2 separate regions of the Homo sapiens genome follow, and region 2 is linked to region 1. The links are contacts of gene promoters, found by promoter capture Hi-C in blood cells and fetal thymus (Javierre and others, 2016). All regions are on one chromosome and are shown on one strand. Each heading gives the region's core, a stretch centred on a gene start or on the middle of the fragment in contact. The rest is flanking DNA. Distances are from core to core; before and after follow the strand shown. Region 1 holds the start of RASIP1 (Ras interacting protein 1). Region 2 overlaps GYS1 (glycogen synthase 1).

What was found. The method cuts DNA at HindIII sites, captures the fragments that hold promoters and counts their contacts. A CHiCAGO score of 5 or more calls a contact.
Region 2: a fragment that was not itself captured here is called in contact with the fragment with the promoter of RASIP1 in region 1 in 12 of 17 cell types (M2 macrophages, megakaryocytes, endothelial precursors and 9 more); the score reaches 7.7 in M2 macrophages.

The regions. Positions count from the first base shown.
Region 1 is chr19:48,739,288-48,742,138 of GRCh38, forward strand. RASIP1 (Ras interacting protein 1) reads right to left here and starts at 1,323. Exons shown (of 12, transcript NM_017805.3): 1 at 1,234-1,323; 2 at 859-999; 3 at 1-358. The coding sequence starts at 995. It overlaps IZUMO1 (izumo sperm-oocyte fusion 1), which reads right to left. Exons shown (of 10, transcript NM_182575.3): 8 at 2,502-2,655; 9 at 2,014-2,191; 10 at 1,565-1,741. The coding sequence ends at 1,621. RefSeq lists a silencer at 1-58, an enhancer at 1-115 and a cis regulatory region at 1,176-2,601. The HindIII fragment of the contact is 9,865 bases long and covers 946-2,851 here.
Region 2 is chr19:48,983,656-48,986,448 of GRCh38, forward strand. GYS1 (glycogen synthase 1) reads right to left here. Exons shown (of 16, transcript NM_002103.5): 4 at 2,195-2,380; 5 at 1,806-1,950. Among named protein-coding and RNA genes, the nearest start is that of GYS1, 8.3 kb to the right of the region's middle. The HindIII fragment of the contact is 2,950 bases long and covers 1-2,793 here.

The DNA of each region.
Region 1 (2,851 bases), core at 73-2,572:
CAGCACGCTCTTGTAGTTGGCGCCCGATGCCAGTCCGGCGCCGAAGATCTTGAGGACCCCCGGAGGCGCCGTGGCGCGGGTAGCCAGCGGGGGCTCGGGGGCCACGCCCGCCGCCAGCTCCGGCAGCTTCTTCTCGCTGGCCCAGCGCTGCGCGCCCCCCGGGGTCCCAGGGCCTCCTGCGCCGCTGGACCCCGTGGTCCCGGTCCCCGAGCCCCGGAAGAGCTGGGAGATGCGCTTGGCGCGGCTACCGGAGGCTCCCCCGGCCGCCTTGACAGCGCCCACTCGCCGCAGCTCCACGTGCGGCGGGGGCGGAGGTAGCGGCTCGCTGCTGCGGCTCCCCGTGTCCGACGAAGAAGACCTGGGAGTCCGCCGGGGAACAGAGTCGCGGGAGAGAGACCCAGGACGACACGCCAAGACGGGGGTGGGGGCATATTAGGAGGGAAGTGGGCAGAGACCCAGAGGGAGGACAGGGACCCAGGGTGGATGGACGGGGCGGGGGTGAGGGTGGGGACAGACGCGAGGCAAAGAGAGAGAGAAAAAATAAATAAATAAAGGCAAGTCCCACAGTAGGAAATTCCAAGAGGTGAGCAGGGAGGGGAGGAAGGAAGGTGAATCAATCCCCCTGCTCCTTCTGTCCCCGTCCCCGTGCCCATCCGGCCTCACTCCACCTCCTAGCCTAGCTCTTACTCCCACCGCGCCCTGGTATCACTGTGCCCCACCGTCTCCCCCTGCCCACCAGCTCGTTTGCCCAATTCAGGATGAGGACCGGAGCCAACACTTTGCAGGGACTGGGCAGTGAACAGGGACAGATGGGAAGCAGGTGTGCAGGGGCAGGAGTCCTGCAGAGATGGCACTCACTTGACAGAGGCTGCGCTGGGCCAGCGCCGCCCCAGCTTCGCCAGCTGCTTCCTGGGGGAATTGATCCACAGGCCCACGGGGAGATGAAGCTTCCCGAAGCGGGGGCTTCCGCCCTCCTTCCGTTCACCAGACAGCATGGCCCTAAGGGAAGGCGGGTAAGGCCCCAACTCCTAAGGCATTCTTGTGGGGATGGGGTGGAGGGAACCTGGACTCCGAGTCAGAGGGAGGAGGGGGCTGGGGCTCAGACTTGCGAGTCCAGGGGGAGGAGAGGGATGGTACCCTGGATTCCTGGGTCCTGGGATGGAAGATGGCTGGGGGACTGAGTCTTGGGGCCCAGGGAGGAGGGGTTTGGGCTGCTGGGTCCCTGGCTCTTACCCTGCTTCGGGTCCGGCACACCCGGAGGCCCTGGCTCCACTGGCCTGGGTCAGTTCCACTGCTCTTGCCTCTGCCACGGCTCCCAGCACTGGGTGGGGGACAGGAAAAGGCAAGAGGAAACCCGGCAGGAAGAGCGGGGAGGGGGCGTCCTGTGAGGAGACCAGGCCTGGGGGAGGAGATCTGGGTAGGGTTGGCCCTGCCCCATTCCTTGATTCTGGAATTACATCGCAGTCAGTTGGTCCCCTCCAGGACCCAAGGGTCCCGGTTTTCTGCCCTTCCTCCCTCAGGCCGGAGCCCATCCCCAGACCTCTCCTCTCGGGGAACCAAAGGCTAGAATCAGTCCCGTCCCGGGGAGTGAGTCAGATGCTTAGACAACAAGATAAATCTTTATTGTTGCCTCGAATCTGTGGCCTTTTCTTTTGGGACCTGGGTTTGCTCGGCCGCTCCACTGCCAAGGCCAAACAGTGAGGATTTGATGAAATCGATCACCTTCCTTCGACGAAATATCCTAGGGGTGGGAGTGGGGTGCAGATCATGGAACCGGTTTGGGTACTAATTGTGTGGGGGACACCCCTCCCAACCTCCCCCTTTGTGACCTTATTCTAGCAATTACCTAAGCCTCGCCCTTCGAAGTCCTCCTATTCAAGCCCCCCGCACTCCATCCCCAGGAAAGTCCTGCTCTCAGGCCTCAGTAGCCCCCAGACCAGCTTCTGTGTTGGGTTCCTGGAAGCCCCGCCCCTTACTCCAAGCCAAGCCTGTCTTCTTCAATGGGTTGCTTACGCAAAGGTAAGGCCGGTTATCAGTGCTAGGGAGCCGCAGATCAGCAGCCCCAGAAGGCGGCTTGCCAGCATTTTCTCGGGCTGCAGAGGCTGGAGGCTTATGGACGACTCCGTGGTCGCCTCCCCCGGGGTTACGATATTTGGAGAAGGTTTTTCCTCCTTGATCATTTTGGGCAACACTGTTAGAGAAAGCGTAAAGAGCAGTCCTGGCAGGGCGTGGAGTTCCTGCCCTGGCAAAGACAAGCCCGTCCCAGTAGCCGGCCATCCCAGAGATAATCACGCCTTCAACAGTGTCAAGCCTGAACACACCCAAGGGAACCCCTGTCCTCGGGGCCAGAGGCCACGCCCCCGGCAGGAAGCCACACCCCGTGCCCCGAAACCACACCCAACAGGAAGTCACGCCCCCATCGCCAAGGCCACGCCCCCGCCGCGGACCCCAGCTTTCCTGGGCCCTGAATCCTACACTTCTCTCAGCCCCACAGCACTGACCTGTGACGTGAAAATTGATGATCGTGGCTGGGCTGGAATTCACAGAGCCCAGCTCGCAGCGGTAGCTGCCTGCATCCTCTGGACCCACCATGGGCTTGGTCAGGGTGGCCTCTTTCCCCTTGGACACCAAGGTCTCCGTATTGTTCCCCCAAACCTAGACCCAAGCTCAAGGGGTCACTGAGGCCTGAGGAATTCAGGGGTTGGGGGAGTACAGGGGTGAGAAGATCACAGGGCCTCAGTGTGGGAGGTGAGTGTCCAGGGTGTCACTGGTCAGGGCACGGGGTCCCCAGAGGTCTGTAGAGACCACACCTAATAGACCACCCTCCTGGGTCATGAGAATCGTGGGTGCA
Region 2 (2,793 bases), core at 104-2,603, 240 kb after region 1:
AGGCCTTCTGGGAGTTGTAGTTCTCACCTTATACTCACTGAGAACGGATACTAAGGGCTGGGAAGAATGCCCAGTTCTGACCTAACCTTTCTCAAAAGCAAAGTCCACTGATCTTCCATTCCCTTTCATAAGACCAATCTACATTAGCCAATTACAGAATTTTATCATATCTGAAATTAATATGAAAGAAATTATACCTCCCATTAGCCTCCAGAGTATATAGTCAGAGAGCCTCAAATACAGGTCACCACCCCCACAGCCTTCTGGGAGCTGTAGTTCTCTATTCTTTAGGTAAAAAAATGGTAACTGATGGTCCCCAGCTTAGGACTTAGGATGGTCCAAGTTATGATTTTTCTTTTCGAGACAGAGTTTCGCTCTTGTTGCCCAGGCTGGAGTGCAATGGCACAATCTTGGCTCACGACAACCTCTGCCTCCTGGGTTCAAGAGATTCTCCTGCCTCAGCCTCCCGAGTAGCTGGGTGGCTGGGATTACAGGCGCCTGCCACCATGCCCACCTAATTTTTGTATTTTTGGCAGAGAGGGGGTCTCACAATGTTGGCCAGGCTGGTCTTGAGCACATGACCTCAGGTGATCTGCCCACCTCAGCCTTCCAAAGTGCTGGGATTACAGGTGTAAGCCACCGTGCCCAGCCAAGTTATGATTTTTCAACCTTATGATGGTGTGAAAGTTACATACATCCACATGAGTCCAATTTTGGATTTTGATGAGATATTCAACACTTTTTTTTTTTAATTTTTTGAGATGGAGTCTCGCTCTGTTGTCCAGGCTGGAGTGCAGTGGTGTGATCTCGGCCCACTGCAACCTCCGCCTCCTGGGTTCAAGTGATTCTCCTGCCTCAGCCTCCCGAGTAGCTGGGATTACAGGCACCCACCACCACGCCCGGCTAATTTTTGTATTTTTAGTAGAGATGGAGTTTCGCCATGTTGGCCAGGCTGGTCTCGATCTCCTGACCTCGTGATCTGCCCGCCTTGGCCTCCCAAAGTGTTGGGATTACAGGTGTGAGCCACTGCGCCCAGCCTATTCAACACTTTATTATAAAATAGGTTTGTATTAAAATTAGCCAGGCGTGGTGGCAGGCGCGTATAGTCCCAGCTACTTGGGAGGCTGAGGCAGGAGAATGGCATGAACCTGGGAGGCGGAGCTTACAGTGAGCCAAGATAGCGCCACTGCACTCCAGCCTGGGCGACAGAGCGAGACTCCGTCTCAAAAATAAATAAATAAATAAAAATAAAATAAAACAGATTTGTATTGGATGATTTTGCCCAGTCGTAGGCTAACATAAAGTGTTCTGGGCACATTTAAGGTATACTAGCCTAAGCTATGATGTTCAGTAGGTTAGGTGTATTAAATGCATTTTTTTATTTTTTGAGACAGGGTCTCACTGTGTCACCCAGGCTGTGACAGGGTCTCTCCAGGCCACCCAAATCATGCAATGGCACGATCACAGCTCACTGCACCCTTGACCTCCTAGGCTCGAGCAATCCTCCCACCTCAGCCTCCTGAGTAGCTAGGGATACAGGCACACACCATGTCTGGCGAATATTTTAGACAGGGATTCGCCATGTTGCCCAGGCTGGTCTCAAATTCCCGGGCTCAAGTGGTTCTCCTGCCTTGGCCTCTCAAAGTGCTGAGATTACAGGTGTGAGCCACCATGCCCAGCCGAAATACGTTTTCGGTTTATGCTATTTCAACTTACAGTGGGCTTCTTGGGCTGAGGAGCAACTGGCTTTGGCATAGACAGCTGCCTACCTCATTCACGTCTGGGGACTTCAGCCCAGCCCCTACCTGGTTTCCTCTTGAGCAAGTGCTGTGCCTCGATGGCGGTGATCTGGGACACAGTAGTGAAGACGTGAGCGCAGTGGGCTGCCGCCCTTTCCATGCAGTATCGGTGGTAGATCTGCCTCTCCCCTGCTTCCTTGTCCACGTTGAACTGGGTGGGAGGGGACAGCAGTCCGGTTAGAAGGATTGGGGAGAAGACTCTGGAGGTCCAGACACTGGGGTCCCAAGAGAAATTGGTGCTGGGGGCTGGATTCCTGGGTCTGAGGTAGGAGGGGTCTGGGGACTTGGACTCCTGGATCCTGGGAGAAGAGGGGGTGCCATCCCCTTGGGCCCCCCAGAGCTTTGGGTTTTCCTGGCATACTCGCAGTCCCCCATCTGCCACGGTCCCAGCTCACGTTCTCCAGGTTGTTGTAGAAGTCCACGGCACCGGCACACAGGTAGCGCCCCAGCAGCGTGGCATGGGTGGTGAAGATGGTTGCTACAGGCAGTCGCCGGGCACGACACAGGCAGAGTCCAACGCCTGCCAACCACTCATGGAAGTGAGCAACCACATGTGGCTTCTCCTCACTCTGTGCCAGGAACTGTGGGCAACAGGGACAGGGCCACTGTCTCCACGAGTGTTGGGAAAAGAATCGGCAATCCCCAGTAGGGACAAGGACTCGGGGAGAGGTCAATCTGTCACCACTACTGCACAGAGTGGGCAGCGGCCCACTGCAGCAATCCCAACCGGACAGGGACCTGTAAATCCCTGAGGCAGCCCAGGCTGGTCTTGAACTCCTGGGCTCAAGTGACTGCCTCCTCAGGGGTTGACAGGAACTGAGGATTTTTTGGCCAACCATCTAAGTCCTGGCAGGGTTAGATTGGACAGACTGAAGTTTTCATGTTCCCAGGTCCTGGACATAGTTTCCAAAGACCCCTTGTCTCAAGGGTACGCTGTCTGCACCCAACATTGGCAAAGGGACTACAACTCCCAGAATGCCATAGGAGCAGCCAG